Regions from separate parts of the Homo sapiens genome. Here all the other regions are linked to region 3. The links are contacts of gene promoters, found by promoter capture Hi-C in blood cells and fetal thymus (Javierre and others, 2016). All regions are on one chromosome and are shown on one strand. The core of a region is centred on a gene start or on the middle of the fragment in contact, and the rest is flanking DNA. Distances in the headings are between cores, read along the strand shown.

Region 1 (2,700 bases), core at 147-2,646, 720 kb before region 3:
TGTTTGTCTGTGTAATTAGGAATTTTCCAAGCTCTAATAAGGCCTGCTACATTTTAAAGTAGCAAAATTTCAGAATATCAGAAGATTTCAGACTATTTGCAGTTGGTAAACAGTGGAATTTAATGCTTGGTTGTTACTGAGCCCACCCTTCCCAGAAGAATTACGATTAACTGTAGAGGAAAGTCCTTTAAAACTTGGTTATAGCAGAAGTTTGAGATGTTTTCCACCAATACTTTCTATGAATTAAATAAGTCATGTAGGGCAATTTGGAATTGAAAAGAGCTAGAAGTACAGCCATATGACGTTACAACTAAGTTCTCTGTATTTTCTGTGGTGATTTCTAATATGCTTTCTAAAGACTAGTAATTTATTAGATGGGTAGGCAGCCATTGTTGATTAGATGTTTTTTGTTGTCTGGAGATTTGGGCATGATGTGTTTATTATTTAAATCAATTGTCATAGGGTAACAATTTGTGCCCTCTTTTTTAAGGATATGGTGGTGGTTTTAATGAAAGAGAAAATGTTGAATATATAGAAAGAGAAGAATCTGATGGTGAATATGATGAGGTAAGCTATATTTTGGTGTTCAGGTTGAATATAAATTAGAAAAACAGAAAAAATTCTTAAATGCAAAGGAAAACAAACTTTTTTTTAAGTGCAATTTGAGTCTTCAGCAACTGATCATTTTCAGGAAATCATAAATATCTAAAATAATTTTTTAGAAAATGTATTAAGTTTAATGCATTATCAGCTGACAAGCATTTTGAAATTGTTTTTCTCTAGTTTGGACGTAAAAAGAAAAAATACAGAGGGAAAGCAGTTGGTCCTGCATCTATATTAAAGGAAGTTGAAGATAAAGAATCAGAGGGAGAAGAAGAGGATGAGGATGAAGATCTTTCTAAATATAAGTTAGATGAGGTGAACAATTTTCTTGTCCTATTTCCCTTTTGTCTTATTGGAGTTATACCATAACATGAATGCTTTTGACAGCCTCAGACACTTGGTGAAAATATATTCTGTGTTTTCATTTGTTCTCACAAAGGTTTTGGATTTCCACTCTGCCAAGTACTATTTGTACTTGGAACACTACTGTTCTGGAGATACAGTGGTGACCGAAACAGAACCAGTTTTCTCTTACACAGTTCTAGAGGAGGAAATATATAAATAGGTAATTTTGATAGCAGTAACGTTATGAAGACACATGATGTGATAACAGTTTAAAAGCAACTTTGGTTTTGCCGATGGATAATGTCTAAGGAGGTGAAGTTTGAGCTGAAACTTGAATGATAGGAAGGAGCCAGCAATAAGAGCCGAGGTGAGAGCACATTTAGGCAGAGAACAGCAAATACGGGTTCCCTAAATAGGAGATAAGCCAGCAGCCTTCAAAAATACCATACATAGGCCAGTATAGTTAGAGCAGAGGGGAGAATGAGATGAGGGGGACAGCACACATTTCAGGTCTGGTGATACTTGTTCTGTCAGGCCAGAGTGTAAGTTTTATGCCATGTTAAGGGTACCTTAGAGCCTGATCATAAGAGGTCTTGGAATGCAACTAAAGAAATAATAAGCCAGTTTTGAAGTTTTTAAGAAAAAAGTGAGATGTGTTTATCTGTCCTGTGTTTCAGAGTGATGACTGTCAGTATATTGAGATACTAGAGAGGCAGAATGGATCTTCAGATTTGAGGAGACCAGCTAAGAGGTTACTATAATATGCTAGAGAATAAGGAACAGAGTGTCTAAGACTAAAAATGGTGATTTCAAGGACTTTTAAGGAGGTGGACTTGAAAATTCTTGGGTGATGCATAAGTGTGACAGAAAAAGTGTGTATGGCCTCCAGGTTTATGTCTGTGCAATACCTGAGACAAAGTTGTCAAGTCTCTATTTGAGATGAGTTTAGTAGGTGAATTTTAGAATTCAGAATTAATTTGCTGAGATACCTGTGATATATGCATATGGAGGTGCTCAGTACACCTAACTGTTTTATCTTTCCTGGTAGGTAACACTAATATCTAAATGTCTAATTATAATTGAATTTTTGTTAGGATGAGGATGAAGATGACGCTGATCTCTCAAAATATAATCTTGATGCCAGTGAAGAAGAAGATAGTAATAAAAAGAAATCTAATAGACGAAGTCGCTCAAAGTCTCGATCTTCACATTCACGATCTTCATCACGCTCATCCTCCCCCTCAAGTTCAAGGTCTAGGTCCAGGTAAACGGGTACAGGTCAAGGGTAACACCAGTCAAAATGTCAGTATCTAACTTTTTTATTTATAAATTTTGTTTTTCTTGACGAAATAAACTTTCCTTTTTATTTTAAAAATTTAATTCAAATCAACTTTTAAAATAATTTTTCAGCTTAGTACCATACAGTTGTTGTCCAGTATTTTTAGAAAAGTAAAGTCTTAGCATGAAACTTCCTTAACCTATTTTAGCCTCATGCTTTTGACTAAAATAGACTTAAAAACTGAATTAAATTTTTATATACACTTATATTTAATTAATCTAAAGAGATAGCTTACATATAGAAATTAAGTAAAGGGGAGATCTGTATTTTCATTCAAGATGTTAAAGGCTAGCACAGAAATTTTCTAGGCATTAAATCATTGCTTATTACATAATGTTTTTAATAGTTTGCTTTGATATCAGTATTGTGAATAACGGAGCAAATTCAGCCATATTAGTTCTGTTGACTTCATG
Region 2 (2,700 bases), core at 52-2,551, 730 kb before region 3:
TATTTGGCCAAGACAACATTTATGTTTAGGTTGAATTTGAAAGGCTTTGAACAGCTCATCACATTTTCCCTCATTCCCTAGTGTTTTACACAGGCCTGCATCATTGATTTATGTTACTGCCTGAACCCTGTAAACATTTGAGTTTTTCTTTCATGGTTTAATACTTGATTTAACTGAAAATCCCTTTATAAGAATGTAAACTTTAGGCAGGGTGCGGTGGCTCACGCCTGTAATCCTAGCACTTTGGGAGGCCAAGATGAGTGCATCGCTTGAGATCAGGAGTTCCAGACAAGCTTGGCCAACGTGGTGAAACCCCATCTCTACTAAAAATACAAAAATTAGCTGGGAGTAGCGGTGCATGCCTATAACCCCAGTTACTCGGGAGGCTGAAGCAGAAGAATCGCTTGACCCCAGGAGGTGGAGAGGTGGAGGTTGCAGTGAGCCGAGATCGTGCCATTGCACTCCAGCCAGACTCCGTCTCAAAAAAAAAAAAAAAAAAGGACACTTTAAACTGTTTTTAGTTATTTACACTAGGATGTAAACAGTTTTTCAACTGTTTTTCACTGTGGGGGATGAGAGTTTTTGAAGAAGGTAAGACTGAAGGAATAACAGGATGGGGACTAGGGTGAGCCAGATGCCTAGGGTTCAACATTTAAGGAGGCGCTCATTCTCAAGTGATAACTCCAGGCTCAGCACCTGAGACTGCCTCCTTAAATGTCATGCCCTGTTTGTGTTATTTGCCTCGCTCTTATCCCAGTCCTTTAAGGATAAAGTTTAACCAGCTTTGGTTTCTGTTACTTGTGATGAAGTATCCTTAATGCATTTCCCTTCCCCACCCATGAACTGAGGGAGTCATTCTTCCTGGGAACACCCATAATATCCTCTGATTATACCTATACTATACTTACAACACAGTTTTCTCACTATTTACACATCCATATGCATCGGCACTCTGTGCGCTCCTTAAACAAAGAGACTGTGACATAATCTTCTTTATAGCTGCAATATCTAGTCCTGTACCTGTTGAGTGGGTAAGTCAATGAATGAATGGACAAATAAATAAATGAGTGTGTTGTCAGAATTGAACATGCCATACCTGCTGTGGCATGGCACAGGTGTGTGAAATCCTTCGTCAGTAAAAACATTTTATTTTTGCTATAGATAGATGGCAAACTTCAACCTGCTTTTATTCTAATTGTGATATGATTTTTCTCATAACTTTGTATGTAGCATTTGAATTGTTCCAGTTTTTTATTTAAACATACGTGCTCAAGAAAGAACTGCAGTAGATTTGTGACTGACACCGTATATATGCTTTTGCCCTCAGTCTCCAGCAGGGCCAGCCTCCTTGACCTAATTAGACTTCTCACTCCCACATGGCTGGTAAATACTATAATTAATTTATAAAGGACTCTGAAACACCAACTGGCAAAAATTCCCTATTAATGGTTTCTACAGAATGAAAAGAGCATTTAAGTTGTAGGAGAGTTGTTGTTGTGTGTGTGTGTGTGTGTGTGTGCGCACATGTATTCACATTTTTTAATGTAGTGAATTTCTAAGAATGTCAAATCATAACACGTACTAAGTAAACAATGTTTAATAACGTCTTGTCATTTCTTTCAGCACATTTATTTTAAATTTGAAAGAAATCTGTGTGACAAAATATTCTTAGAGATGTATATTTGGGGTATGTGAGACTTGAGTGTCCATGAATACTCACACACATCCCATAAACTATGCCATTCTTAAAATAAAGTTAAAGAGAAAAATATAGACCATCAGTTTAAGAAGGATGTCTCAATGATTTGAGAAAGCAACAACTGTAGTGGCCTTTGGAGTATTTGCCTATTCAGAAGCCATGGTTGGCAGAATTTCAAGATGGCTCCCAAGATTTCTGTGTCCTGGTGTACATGCCCTGTATTATACCCTCTCTGTGAGTGTGGGCAGGACCTGTGAATACAATGAGATGGCACTCCTTTGATTAGTTTATGTTATATGGCAAAGGGGACGGAACCATTTCTCCTCTGATTACATTATATTATATAAGACTTTATAGCAGTAATAGTTATAGTAGTAGTATATAGTAGTAATGGTAGTGGCAGCAGCAGCAGCCAACTGGAGAGAAATTCTCCTGCTGGCTTTGGAGAAGTAAACTCCGTTTTGAGATGGCCATGTAATTAGGACCTGAGGGCAGTCTCTAGAAGCTGAGAGAACCCCCTGGCCAACATCTCCCAAGAAAATAGGGACCTCTGATGTAAAGTTTCAGGGAACTAAATTCCACTAACAACCTGAATATGCCTAAAAGCTTCAGATGAAATTGCAGCTCCACTTGGCACCTTGATTGCTGCCTAGTGAAACCCTAAGCAGATAATCCAATTAAGCTATGCCCAGACTTCTCATCCACAGAAACTGAGAGATAACAAATACATGTTACTTTAAGCTTCTAAGGTTGTGGTAATTTGTTACTTGGCACTAGAAAACCAATACAAGAACCAACTGCTTTTTCTTTTCTGTGGGCACTACCCTTTACTCCCCTTGTCCCACAGGAGTGCCTCCTAGCAGTCAGGTCTATACATTACACCATGATCCTGAAAAACTGACATAGCTGATTGGATAGAGGTGCACACCTGACTCAAGCCAGAGCAACTAGAGTCTGGAAATTTGAAGACAGGGCTAAGAGGCTCCAGGTGGGAATTTCTT
Region 3 (2,700 bases), core at 152-2,651:
GAACTCTCCACTCCACCGAAAAAGAAAGAAGAGGAAGAAACAGATTTATCTGAACAGACTGAGAAGAAAATTGGAGGTGAAAAGTTGAGTGACTGGGGAGGATTAAGAGAGGCCCATCGAGTTGTTTGTTTGCGGAGATGAGTTAGCAGTAGTATAAACTTTAAGAAAGAAGAGATCTGGCCGGGCGCAGTGGCTCATGCCTGTAATCCCAGCACTTTGGGAGGCTGAGGCTGGCGGATCACTGAGGTCAGGGGTTCAAGACCAGCCTGGCCAACACGGTGAAACCCCGTCTCTACTAAAAATACAACAATTAGCTTGGTGTGGTGGCGCAGGCCTATAATCCCAGCTACTCTGGAGGCTGAGGCAGGAGAATCGCTTGGACCTGGGAGGTGGAGGTCGCAGTGAGCCGAGATTGCACCACTGCACTCTAGCCTGGACTACAGAGACTCTGTCAAAAAAACAAAAAAACAAAAAAAAGAGAGAGAGATCTGAAGTATTTGCTCTCAGAACATAGGGGGACTTTGGAGAGTTAAATGGGTGAAGATCTTTAGGATGTTTTGCTAAGCCCCCTCCTTACGTCCTCAGTGGCCAGCTTTAGTTACTTTGTTAAAGTTTTATGGTTGGCAGATTTACGTTTCTTCAGAGTTTGACACTAGGTTGAGGTTGGCCATGAACTAATACAATTATATTTCAGTTACACGATTCTTTGCCCTCCTTGAGTGTCCCCACCCTCATATATGTTAACTCTGACATCTGCCCGAAATTCATTCATCTAATAAATATTTGAGTGGCCTCCCCTCTTTCCGATTGCTGGACAGCCCATCATTTTCCAAAGTCAGCACCTAAACTCTTCTATGACTTTCCTGACAACTCAACACTAAAATTCGTCCCTCCCTTTTTTGTGTGCAACCCACCTCCCCGCCTCCGCTTTTAATTGTTTGGCCTTCATTCCTCTTCTACAGTGCTCCCTGCAATCAGTACTGGTGCTGTACATATTTGCTAGCTTCGTACATACGGCACGAAGTAGATGCTCAGTAAATGTTGGTTGACTGAGTATCCTCTGCATCTCGGTGACATCACATCCTGCGTGCCGTGGCGTCATTCTGCATTCCTCTGCGGGAGGCTCAGATCCGGAGGGTTTAAGTGGTTGTTTATAACATGCACCGAACATATCCAACGGAGGCTGTGGTTTCCGACCGCCCACAAAAAGCGCGGTTGGCGGGAGTGCGGGTTCGGGGTCGGCTGGCAGCTGGGAGACTCCAGCTCTGGGCGGAAACACACTGCCTCGGAGGCGCCGGCGCCTAGTGATTCTGGGAATAGAAGGTGCGAGGGAGGGAGCGGGTGGCTCACTTATCGCGGTGTTTTCTCTCTCTTCACTCCTGGGGGAGCTCTCGCGAGAGGAGCAAGAGGAAGATGGCCGTGCCCTGTTTTTCGGTGTAAGGCAGCGACGGCGGCTGCGACGGCGAGACTGAGATCCTGGTGTCGTGGGCACCTGAGTTCTAGCTTCCCCCAGCGAGCGCGCGTCCCTTCGTGCCTAGGCGAGAGCCGGCTCTTCCCCGGGAGATGCGTTTGTCCCAGGCTCGGGGGCTCAGTGGGAGTTCATGCTGCGCTGGAGGCTCTTGGCCACCGCTCTAATCGCCTTGTGCCGCCGCAGCGCCAGCTCCGTCGCCAGCGGTGAGCCTCCCGATTCCCCCCCTTGCCCCTGGCGGCGGCGATGACCGGGGAGAAGATCCGCTCACTGCGGAGGGACCACAAGCCCAGCAAAGAAGAAGGGGACCTGCTGGAGCCCGGGGATGAGGAAGCGGCGGCTGCCCTCGGCGGTACCTTTACCAGAAGCAGGATTGGCAAGGGCGGCAAAGCTTGTCATAAGATCTTCAGTAACCATCACCACCGGCTACAGCTGAAGGCAGCTCCGGCCTCCTCCAATCCCCCCGGCGCCCCGGCTCTGCCGCTGCACAATTCCTCCGTGACTGCCAACTCCCAGTCCCCGGCCCTTCTGGCCGGCACCAACCCCGTTGCTGTCGTCGCGGATGGAGGCAGTTGCCCCGCACACTACCCGGTGCACGAGTGCGTCTTCAAGGGGGATGTGAGGAGACTCTCCTCTCTCATCCGCACGCACAATATCGGGCAGAAAGATAATCACGGTGAGGAGTGCTAGCCCCTCTCCACCTCTCTCCTTCCCCGAGCCTAGGGTGTGCCTCCCCAGGCTTCTGGAATCCTAGGCCCCCTCCAGCAGACTCTTCTTTTTGCCCATCATCCGGGCCGTTCGGTAAATCATGATCGACTCAGTAATAGCGTGCCAGTGGTCAAGGGGTTGGTTCTTGTGGGTGCAAAGGAATGTATCCTCCTTGCCCACTTCAAAGTTTGTCGTGAGAAGCTGTTTTGTTTGAGACAGGCCTTCGATTTGCTGATTCTGGACTGTCAGAAATTTTAGGTTGCCTCCCACCCAACATGGTTTTCTCCCTTTGTTTATGGAGCTATATATCTTTATTTCTCTCTCTTCCCCCTACCTTGGCATTTTAAATTTTGAACGCATAAATTGCCCTCCTCCCTTCATTGCTCACATACAGATCCCATCTTGACTGCAACTGGTTGTGATTTTGCCTGCCACCAGGTTGTTTCTTTTTTGTCTGCTTTCAGTAAACTTAGAATGTTAGATTTCTGAAAGCCACACAGTAGAAATTTGTTGGTATTTGATAC

What was found. The method cuts DNA at HindIII sites, captures the fragments that hold promoters and counts their contacts. A CHiCAGO score of 5 or more calls a contact.
Region 1: a fragment that was not itself captured here is called in contact with the fragment with the promoter of ANKRD13C in region 3 in 6 of 17 cell types (naive CD4 T cells, fetal thymus, total CD4 T cells and 3 more); the score reaches 7.2 in naive CD4 T cells.
Region 2: a fragment that was not itself captured here is called in contact with the fragment with the promoter of ANKRD13C in region 3 in 1 of 17 cell types (total B cells); the score reaches 5.6 in total B cells.

Annotation. Positions count from the first base shown.
Region 1 is chr1:71,070,339-71,073,038 of GRCh38, reverse strand. ZRANB2 (zinc finger RANBP2-type containing 2) reads left to right here. Exons shown (of 10, transcript NM_203350.3): 5 at 491-567; 6 at 784-918; 7 at 2,043-2,212. Among named protein-coding and RNA genes, the nearest start is that of MIR186, 4.0 kb to the right of the region's middle. The HindIII fragment of the contact is 3,187 bases long and covers 1-2,700 here.
Region 2 is chr1:71,087,139-71,089,838 of GRCh38, reverse strand. The region is part of intron 1 of ZRANB2-DT (ZRANB2 divergent transcript); the gene reads right to left. LOC105378795 (a long non-coding RNA gene) reads left to right here and starts at 883. Exons shown (of 3, transcript XR_001737669.2): 1 at 883-1,031. The HindIII fragment of the contact is 2,012 bases long and covers 296-2,307 here.
Region 3 is chr1:70,353,423-70,356,122 of GRCh38, reverse strand. ANKRD13C (ankyrin repeat domain 13C) reads left to right here and starts at 1,401. Exons shown (of 13, transcript NM_030816.5): 1 at 1,401-2,144. The coding sequence starts at 1,715. It overlaps ANKRD13C-DT (ANKRD13C divergent transcript), which reads right to left and starts at 1,312. Exons shown (of 4, transcript NR_168352.1): 1 at 915-1,312. RefSeq lists enhancers at 1,022-1,081, 1,182-1,241, 1,292-1,481, 1,512-1,571, 699-1,616 and 3 more. The HindIII fragment of the contact is 4,699 bases long and covers 1-1,861 here.